3 separate regions of the Homo sapiens genome follow, and regions 1 and 2 are each linked to region 3. The links are contacts of gene promoters, found by promoter capture Hi-C in blood cells and fetal thymus (Javierre and others, 2016). All regions are on one chromosome and are shown on one strand. Each heading gives the region's core, a stretch centred on a gene start or on the middle of the fragment in contact. The rest is flanking DNA. Distances are from core to core; before and after follow the strand shown. Region 1 overlaps LOC107985242 (a long non-coding RNA gene). Region 2 holds the start of LOC105371670 (a long non-coding RNA gene). Region 3 holds the start of UCHL5 (ubiquitin C-terminal hydrolase L5).

Evidence for each region. Contacts are between HindIII fragments. The CHiCAGO score rates a contact against its expected background, and 5 or more counts as called.
Region 1: a contact is called between a fragment that was not itself captured here and the fragment with the promoter of UCHL5 in region 3, in 2 of 17 cell types (total B cells and naive CD8 T cells). The highest score is 6.7, in total B cells.
Region 2: a fragment that was not itself captured here is called in contact with the fragment with the promoter of UCHL5 in region 3 in 9 of 17 cell types (total CD4 T cells, naive CD8 T cells, naive CD4 T cells and 6 more); the score reaches 13.6 in total CD4 T cells.

What each region holds. Positions count from the first base shown.
Region 1 is chr1:194,273,702-194,277,179 of GRCh38, forward strand. All of the region lies in intron 2 of LOC107985242 (a long non-coding RNA gene), which reads right to left. Among named protein-coding and RNA genes, the nearest start is that of LINC01031, 970 kb to the left of the region's middle. The HindIII fragment of the contact is 550 bases long and covers 1,803-2,352 here.
Region 2 is chr1:194,298,831-194,301,870 of GRCh38, forward strand. All of the region lies in intron 2 of LOC107985242 (a long non-coding RNA gene), which reads right to left. It overlaps LOC105371670 (a long non-coding RNA gene), which reads right to left and starts at 1,116. Exons shown (of 3, transcript XR_922390.2): 1 at 1,077-1,116. The HindIII fragment of the contact is 1,451 bases long and covers 645-2,095 here.
Region 3 is chr1:193,057,414-193,060,884 of GRCh38, forward strand. UCHL5 (ubiquitin C-terminal hydrolase L5) reads right to left here and starts at 1,947. Exons shown (of 11, transcript NM_001199261.3): 1 at 1,772-1,947. The coding sequence starts at 1,847. It overlaps RO60 (Ro60, Y RNA binding protein), which reads left to right and starts at 2,199. Exons shown (of 9, transcript NM_001173524.2): 1 at 2,199-2,363. It also overlaps SCARNA18B. RefSeq lists enhancers at 1,299-1,608, 1,633-2,365, 1,769-2,298, 2,366-3,098. The HindIII fragment of the contact is 5,498 bases long and covers 1-3,471 here.

The DNA.
Region 1 (3,478 bases), core at 828-3,327, 1.2 Mb after region 3:
TTATTTGTAGTTATTCAGACTTTCTCTTGTGTTTCTGTTCTTCCTCTGCTTTTATTTTTAATGTCTCTTGCAATCCCTCTATTTTCACTTGGTCTGAATTAAGTAACCCAGTTCTAAATTCCTAGAACACTCGGGGATTATCTGCATCATACTTCAGTGTATCTGTTTCATTAGACTGTGTGGCCACTGGGGCCAAACATAGTGACTAAGGCAGTGTCCATAACTTGGTGAGTACATAATAAAATGTTGGCATTTTAGCATATTTCAGAAGATAATTAATTACAATCTCTGACTACAAAATATTTTTAAGGTATTTAACACAGATATATTTATTCAATGCAATAGCATATAGAAAGTTCTGCATTCACACATAGTAGCTAATCAGAGCCAGTACTGAATGGAGCATGACAGTTTAACATATTCAAACAAGCACCAAGTAAGAAAAGATAAAGGATAACTATAACCATGATATTGAGGTATATTGTCTAAGGAGTTATCCATATCTAGTATAATTTAATGTCTGGTGCTTATAGATTAAATATCTATTTAATACAAACAAACAAAAAGCTAATTTTAGGTGTTCCACGAATAAAATATAATGAATCCATCTCCCACTATTGGGACTAATGTGGAAAACTGAGTAATGGACCAAAACAACTAAATTCTTTAAACAAATTTTTCTTGGTTTAGTATTTATAAACATTTAAGTAAATTATTGGAAAAGATGAAAATATGAAGATTTTAGAGTTAAAAGAAAAGGCATGTAAAGGCATTTAAAAATAAACACATTTCTTGATTTCTTACATTGATCCATATTATTGTATTTCAGCTCATTCAATATTAGTAATAAACAGGCAACAAGCTGCTGTATCTCTTTGAGAATGAATTGTAAACTTATGAAGTAACAAGACGAATCAGGAAGAAAAATTCTATTCAGAGAACAATCATTGAAATCAGAAAGAGATATATTTAAGTTATATCTGTATCACTTACTACCTCTGTAATTTTGGGTGAGTTATTTAGGTTATAAAAGCCTGATATCTACCTCAAAGTGTTGTAAGAATAAATAGTAATTACGCATGCAAAGGGGAAGCAAGGAGATTAACAAATAGTTAATGTTTCATTCATTTGCTGTCATTTACTATGACTTTTGTTAAGGAATTGTTTTTCATAAAACAAATTGTATTAAATAATCATATTACCCATTAGCTTTCATATATAATTCGGAAATGTATTCTCAAGAATAACCAATGACATTATAACAAATAAGTTGCTTGCTTCTCAATGTTTACCAAGCACGGAGTGAGTTACTGGATATCCACTATTCTCTAGATAATTAATTGATAGCATTAAATATGCCCAACTCTGGCCTTGTAACTTTAGAAAGTCCCATGAGTTAATTATGCTGTGTAGGTTTTGCTTCTTAAGAAAACTGAACGTATTTTTAATACTATGGTGTTTGTTAGGTTAAAAGTTAATTGGAAAAATAAAATATTTCCACTCCAAGCAGAATTTGTTTTTCACCTGTGGCTAACATATGAAAATTATACACTTTCTTGGTGCTACATAGTACAATACAAAAATTGTGCTGCAAAACAAAAATTAAAAGATGTAAAGAATTTTGGTGTGACTTTCAGTGATCATGATATGCTTAAAATAATATGCATAATTGAAACAAAAGAATGAATCTTTGAATATAAACCACAGAATATTTCCAGGAAAAGCATATTAGCTTGTCTCAGTTAAATCTTCCAACCAAAGGCTAGAAAATTTGAGTAACTTCTTTTTATTAGTCACTTTAAAGCTTTCAAGTCCTGTAGGAACAAGATCCTGGACAGAGGAGAAGCAAAGAGGTGAATGTGGATTTCCTATGTGTGATTCTTCCATCTGGGGATACGACAATCCACATACGGTGGTATGGAATTCAAGAAGTTGAACAAATATATTTTTTTAATCTCCCAGAGGTGGGATAAAATAAATTGAATGTAAGCCTGACGGGGAGGAGCACACAAATACTTTAGCCTTTTATTTGTGAGGCCTGAAGGAATATACTCTTAAAAAAACAGTAACTTAGGAACTGACTAGCTGTCACAAACATTGAAATCCCACCAAGTATTAGCTCAATCACTAACTGAATTATGGTAATTTCCAATAACCTATACTGAATTCTAGAGTCTGGAAACTGAAGATAGCTATGAGCAATTTACCAAGACTATGGAAGTATGGATTACAGTTCAGGGCTTGCAGAGGTGGAACAATTTTTATGAATACACTAGTCTTCCAGTTGCATGAAGACAAAATCAAGTAAGATGTAGACCAGATCTCATAATGATTTGTAATCAGTTTCAAATAAGCTTAATTTCATATTGGATTAAGGTGGTATGGCCCAAATTTAACTACCTGTGAAAAACGAAAGAAAAACTCTATAAAGACAAGCCAATGTGTTAAAATATTTCTAATTTTTTTTCTGCACAATTCCATTTAAAAAATTACATGTCATAGGCCACGCGCGGTGGCTCACCCCTGTAATCCCAGCACTTTGGGAGGCCGAGGCGGGCAGATCACAAGGTCAGGAGATCTAGACCATCCTGGCTAACACGGTGAAACCCCGTCTCTACTAAAAATACAAAAAATTAGCCAGGCGCCTATAGTCCCAGCTACTTGGGAGGCTGAGGCAGGAGAATGGTGTGAACCCAGGAGGCGGAGCTTGCAGTGAGCCGAGATAGCGCCACTGCACTCGGGCCTGGGCAAAAGGGCGAGACTCCGTCTCAAAAAAAAAAAAAAAAAAAAAAAAAAATTACATGTCATAGCAATGGGCAAAAATAAATGGTGGTGCTAATTATGGTGATCATGATGATAATAACAAAGATTAGAAAAGAAACAAAGAAATAGTTTCAGAGGAGTAATAGGTTATGAGGATTTGAGACCTAAATTATAATATGAGATTAATTAATATTTTCAACCAAATAAAGATGAATTGGAATTTTTCGTCAGAGAACTGAACTTTATAAAATGAGTTATGAGAAAATTAAAAGAATAGAAAATATGCTATATGTAAAATTAAGAATTAAAGGGCTGTACTGAAAAACACATGAGAAACAGCAAAAGACAAGATTGGAGATCTGAACAGTAAAACAAATGAAAATATTTAGAGAGAATACAGAAAGAACAGAGATACCATGAATAGGTCTAATATATGTGCAAATGCAGTCCCATTAGAAATGAAAAAAAATTAGACAGGATAATTATTTGAATAAGTAATAGCTAACGATTTCCAAAAACTGATTACTGATATGAAGTCACAGATTTATGGAGATATATATAGATATATATATATAAAGTCAGGCCTTCCATAAATATATATACACGCAAAAACTATATATGATATATATATCAATATCATATAGATATTATATATCTATATATAATATAAACATATAATCTATAGTATATAATAACACATAACACATTATAGTAA
Region 2 (3,040 bases), core at 120-2,619, 1.2 Mb after region 3:
CTAAAGAATAATCCCAAACAAAGGGAACCTAAAATATAAAAGTAAATATTTTTCAAAAAATATGATCTTCATTATGTAGTCCTGACAAATAAATGACAAAACAAAGCAAAGGATTATAAGTGTCAAAAGAGAAAGCAATCTAACTGGGGAAAGCAGTCAGAGAAAGATTAACAGCCCTACGAGTTTATGGTTTAAGTGATTGAAGACTGAAAATTTTAGCCTTCCTGTTGTTATTGTTGAAGGGGTCCCATTAGCCTGCTGAAGATAAAGTGTGTGTAAAGACAGTTGGTGAGCAATAGGAAAATCATATTTCAACCATATGTCCATGATGCACACAGCCTGGCTTGTACATCCCTGAGCCTGAATCTTGAGCATGGGTCTTCTTTGCTCAGGCGTTGTCACATGGAAGTATTTAACCTGTGGAATGAGCCCTTTTCAGGCTCCCTTTATTTTCCTGCATATACTTATCATTCTGGTTGTTCATATTCCTTTAACTTCTCCATTCCTTTAGTAGTTCCTCTTTCCTTCTTCTGTTTCTAGTCTAGGAACCTTTCTCTAACCCACTCTTTAGGCTTGTAAATATTCCAAAATCCATGGTTGGGATATTTTTTACCTGATTCCACTGCTGGATAAAGGGTGAAGTAAGCTTCAGTTTCTAAGCACAGAGAAACATAGAAAAGCGCCCATCTTGTCGTATTTCTGAGTGTAAAATGAACTCATTTCTGTATTTAAAAATAAAATCTGTATCTCTAAAGCTGCAAGAATAATTTTCTGCTGATTCTCAATTTTTTGGTAGAGGGTTGTAAATCTGGGCCAGGGGCATCATTTTGTTAAAATTTAATTTTATTGAACTTTGACAAATTATACTTGTAGATATTTATGAGATACAAAGTGATCCAATAATACGTATAAGTGTGGAATGTTGAGTCTAAGTAACATATCCACCATCTCAAATACTTATCATTTATTCCTCCAAGTATACACACACATACACACACACAAACACACACACACACAATGGTGAAACCCCGTCTCTACTAAAAATACAAAAATTAGCCGAGTGTAGTGGTGCACACCTGTAATCCCAGCTAGTCAGGAGGCTGAGGCAGGAGAATCTCTTGAACCCAGGAGATGAAGGTCGCAGTGAGCCGAGATCACACCACTGCACTCCGGCCTGGACTACAGAGCGAGATTCCGGAAAAAAAAAAAAAAAAAAAAAAAGACAGATATTCTGTCATTTGCAGAAGCATGGATGAATCTAGAGGACATTATGCTAAGTAAAATAAGCCAGGCACAGAAAGAAAAATACATATTCTTTCTTAAATGTGGAATCTAAAATAATTGAATTCATAGAGGTAGAGAGCACAATGACGGTTATGAGAAGATGAGAGGTGGGGGAAATGGGAAGATGGTCAATGGGAGTAACTTATCCTGAAATACAAATCAACCATTCCATCTGTGATTAGAAAGATTATCCCAATACAAAAGAAATGAGTGTCAGTTCCAATGCAATTTACTTTGCTCTCCATGAGATCTGGTCATCAGGATGCTTAAAACTATCTCCAGCCCAGTGGTAAACCCTGACCATATTCAGGGTATACGTATACCCTGCCAACCATGAGGAGTAACATGAGAAGAAATCAATCTCTCTTGCTTTCTCATTTCATTACCAACTGCCAAGCTCTCCTCTGTGCCATATTTCCCTTAGACTTTGTCCTTCATTGTCATGTCCCTATGACTAAGTTTCCTTCTAGGATTGAGCTCCTGCCAACTTTTATTAGTTTCCCTCCAAGTTACCAGAATGCATACCTTCTGCCTAAGTATAGAACATTTTCAACAAATATGCCTGATAGCCATTGCTTCCCAGGTTTGTTTTATCATCTACCCAATAATGTTTGTTTGTTTCTGTTGTTGTTGTTTTCTGATTTGAACAAACTATTGCTGTTTATTTGGAATGAGGACCTAGGTTGCTGACTCATTCGCTATGGTATCTATACTTCATTCTGAATATATAACATTCGTACTTGTAAATAGATCTCTACTCCAAATGGCAGTTCAATCTTAGGGACTGGATCCAGAACAGCACCTAGACCTAAGCTTATTTATTTGAACATTTCCTATCATGAGCCATATGTCAGAAATTTTAGTTTAGGAAGCTGTGGTAGCTGAATGCTTTCCTGTAGCCCAGGACTATTATTCTCTAGAACTTGGCTGAGCATGAGAAGAAAAATAGAACAAGCAGATGGGCTTTGCCTTCGGGTATGGCAGCACACTTCATTCTTTAGAGTATAAGCTTGCTGCTCATGACACTACGGCAGAGCAGAGCCTAAGAGGCCACATAGAGATGAAAATTGCTGCCTTGGCCTCATTATTCAAAGTCTCACTACCCAGAATACAAGCTTAGAAAGGATTCTTCACTATTTTATTCCTATTCTTGCCTGTCAGGAGATATTGTTGAGCCTGTACACCATGTGAAACATCATTTAAAGTTCTATGGAGGATATATGAAAATATTTGGAAAACAGAACCACTCTCAACCCCCACAAAAAAAAACTGAAAAAAGAAATAAAATGTTTATTTTTTCTATGCAAAGCAAATATGAAGTCTCCCCTCTCATTCAACAGTATTTCTGCCTCAAAAAATAAATAAAACATAATCAAAACACTTTAAATTCACTCTAACATGTAACAAAACTGTCACTGGAGATCTCCTGATTTGAGAAATCATAGGGTCTGCAAAACCACAGACTAAATATAATGCTAGACATTTATGTAAAATATTTCAGCAACAATATGAGTTGTATTATTAGGATGAACAATGATGGCCTTATGGTTAAATAAGCATATCTGAATACCTTATTTCTCAAACACACTGAAAATATGGGTTCTGCAAATGGTATCCCTCTTTCTCCCTAAACCTAGAGCAGTGCCCAAGAGAACAGAATACAGGGCCAAGTTTTATGTATTTAAATTCTGTTCTCCCACTTAAAGGTTCTGTTACTATAAAAAAAAAAAACGCAGTACTTGTTCTATGCTTCAGT
Region 3 (3,471 bases), core at 697-3,196:
AACTGTTGATTTAAATATAGCAAACTTATTGAATCTAACTCCTCCTTCCTAACCCACTAGTTTAGCCAATCATCTCGGACTCCAACCATTTTAAGAGATGTCTAGCTTCTCTCACTTTATTCCAACCTGCCCTGCACACTTAAAAGCACAATAAACCTTAATTATGAAAATAATGTCATTTCAGCATTAAAATATATTTGATAGGTAAATCCCCAGTCACTACAGGGCAATTCAAACTATACAACATGGCATACAATCTGTCCTCAGTTTATCTTTTCAGTTTCAGATCCAAATAAATATTCCTCCAGTCTGCTATATTATGTTCTAGTCACTTTGCTAGCTGTTGGCTAACCCATATACTTTAACATCACTACTGTTTATGCTTTTCCTTCTGGCTGTGCTCCTCCATGACCTGTGTACTTTTAACATTTTGTATATACTCTAACATAGCAATTAACACACCATATTATAGTTTGACTGTCAATTATTCGAAACAGCAGTTATGGTTTATTCACATGAAAATTTCCCAATCCTTGGGTGGGCGCGTGGCTCACGCCTGTAATCCCAACACTTTGGGAGGCCGAGGCGGGTGGATCACGAGGTCAGGAGCTGAGACCAGCCTGGCCAGCATGGTGAAACCCTGTCTCTACTAAAAAAAAAAAAATTAGCCGGGCATGGTGGCGCGTGCCTGTAATCCCAGCTACTCGGGAGGCTGAAGTAGGAGATTCGCTTGACCCCGAGAGATGGAGGTTGCAGTGGGCCAAGATCGCGCCACTGCACTCCAGCCTGGGCGACAGAGCGAGACTCTGTCTCAAACAAAAAAAAGAAAATTTCCCAATCCTTACCACTGTGCCTGAGATATAGAAGATGAACAACATATGCTTGATAAATGACATTCCAAATATTAAGCTGTGTACAACAGGCAATATCTACATCAACGTTTAATTGTTAATCCCGCGTAAAAGTTTTAACATCGTAGAGTCAATAACACTTGGGAAATAGATAAAAACGTACTGTCCAAAGAAGAGACTAAGAACAAGATAAATAGGGAAGGATAAAAAGTAAAATGTGTTGATTATTTAGGACGAAAGGCACTAAATACAGCCAGAGAGAAACTGTGAGGAAAGCATGTGGCCTCTAGTCTAGAACACTAGCTCAAGAAAACTCACTTCACCGGAAGCCAGAAATGAGCAGAGAGCGGAACCAGTGAAGTGGCCTTTCAGGCCCACGCAGTCAGCGTGTGTGGACGTCCCGAAGAGCTATTCACACATTCAAGGCGTTCTGCTTTGAATAACCAGAATCTCGAGTTCCTGGGCGGCTTGAGCCGCAGACACCTCACCCTTGAGAAGGCGCACCCTAGGGTGGCTTCTGCAGGACTAATGGCCTGAGCAATGCACTTGACCTCACCAGCCCGGGATAAGGTGCGCGCCGCAGAGAAGGGGCAGTGCAAAGGGCAATACGTGCTTAAGAGCTTGGGGAGCGAGGGCCCTCAAGTCAATTACAGGATTTGGGTGCCAGGTCCTGAGGATGCAGCAGGCACAAGACTGACACGATCCTTGCCCTCGTGGTGTGGCTCTACAAATTACTGTGGAAACGCGACTGTCTCGAGCTGAGGAGAGGGCAGAACATCTACATTTCCCCCACCCGGACTCCAGGTTCCTGAAGTCACCTCTCCAGACGCGGGGCGGCGGTGGCCGCAGGGAACCACTCCATGCCCAGCTTGGGCCTCCTCCCGTGACCCCAGGCCCAGGACGGTCCCCTTGGTTCTCACCGAATCCTTTAATGAGCTCGGTGAAGACCCCGGGGTCGCTTTCCATGAGGCACCACTCCCCGGCATTGCCCGTCATGGCCCTGGCCACACACCGCCCCGATCCACCTCTCGCTCTCAGCTGCCCCCCGCACCAGCTGCCGCCGGCCACAGATCTCAGCAAACCCGCCGCCGAGCTCGTCAACCACACGTCACCCCGCCTACTTCCCGACAGCCTCCGGGCGCCGTCACCTGCAGCGCGACTGAGCGCGGGAGGACGCTCTAGCCACCCTAGAGACATCGAAACTCTTCCCAGGCCTTGCAGCACCCGTAGCGGATTCGGAAGGGCTGGGGCCTGAGAAGAAAGGGCGGTGATTCACAGCGCCGAGGAGGCAACATCCGGGATCCTCGCCCCTCTGGGGCGGAGGCGGGGCAAAAGAAGAGGGGCAGGACTCGTTCCCGGGAACCGAACCTGGAATCCCCGGCGGCAGTGGGGCTGTTGCTGTTGCTGTGGCTGTCGCTGCCCGTCAGGCTGCCTTCTTTTGTCGTTTCCCAGCGCTGCGCAGGACTTCTCCTGGCGGCGCTGCGGATCCAGGGGGTCGGCTGCCAGGTACAGGTGAGGACATTGCGGGAGGCCGGCTGGGAGCCTTTTGTGCGGCCCCAGGGACGCGCAAATTCTGACCAGTCCTCCATGTCTCTCACCCGCATCCCAGGGGTTGAGGCTGGGCAAACGCCGCGAAACTATCGCTCTTCCCCGTCCCGCTTCCGCGCCTGTCCACCCTGGGTAACGGAACCAGCATCGCGGTAGGGACATCCTCGCTAGGCCCGGCCGGACCATTCCTCAGGGTGGGCCCTTTCCGAAGCCGGGACCGCTCCTGCTTGTCGGCATCGCTCCCCACAGGCCGACGTCGAGAGGGCCTGCTTTACTCCTCCTCTTTCTCCTCCTTCTCCCGCGGCTTCTGCGCGGAGAGGCGTCGCCCGGGATCTGGGTTTTGGAAGAAGGATCTTTGTGGGAAGACAGGGTGAATTTATCACAGAGGAATAACGAGGGAGAGGAGAAAGGTTTGTCCATGGGGCTGCTAGACTAGTGGAAGGGGATGCGGTGCGTCAAGGGAAAATTAGGTTGAAAACAAATGTCGTGTATTAATCTAAAAACATTTGGAATGGTTCTAAAACTGGATGATGAGTTAAACCAAATATTTACTAAATATTTACTAAATTGCCCTCATTCAGCAGGCTCTTATAGAATACTATAGTGTTAAGATTAAAGTTTTTAAGAGTATATTGAAGTCGTTAAGTGTATATTTACTCCTTAAAAGCTACATATTCCAAGAAAGACCTTTGGCTTCCAGAAAAAAAAAATGTTTTAGTGGGTAAAACTCTGACTCCTTCCTTCTCAAATAGGTGACTTGTGCCCTGGAGTTAGGGAGCCTTGTGCTACAGATTATGTGAAGCCATGAAATAAACGTGGTAAATTTTATTGAGGGAAGCAACAGAGCAGCTTTTGTATTAAAAGGAGCCTGAGTACGCTATGGGGTAGAAGCCAAAATTTGTATGAAGTGTTGGTTTAAAAAAAATTTTTTTTGTAACTTTCTTGAAGTTTATCTCCGGAAACTCTGCCCTCAACTTGGAGACTAGGAGGATTCTGTACAGTATATTTCCTTGAGATACTTTATTGGAAAAGTTTAAGAGGCACAGAGTCCAGAATGATTGGCATCAGAGCC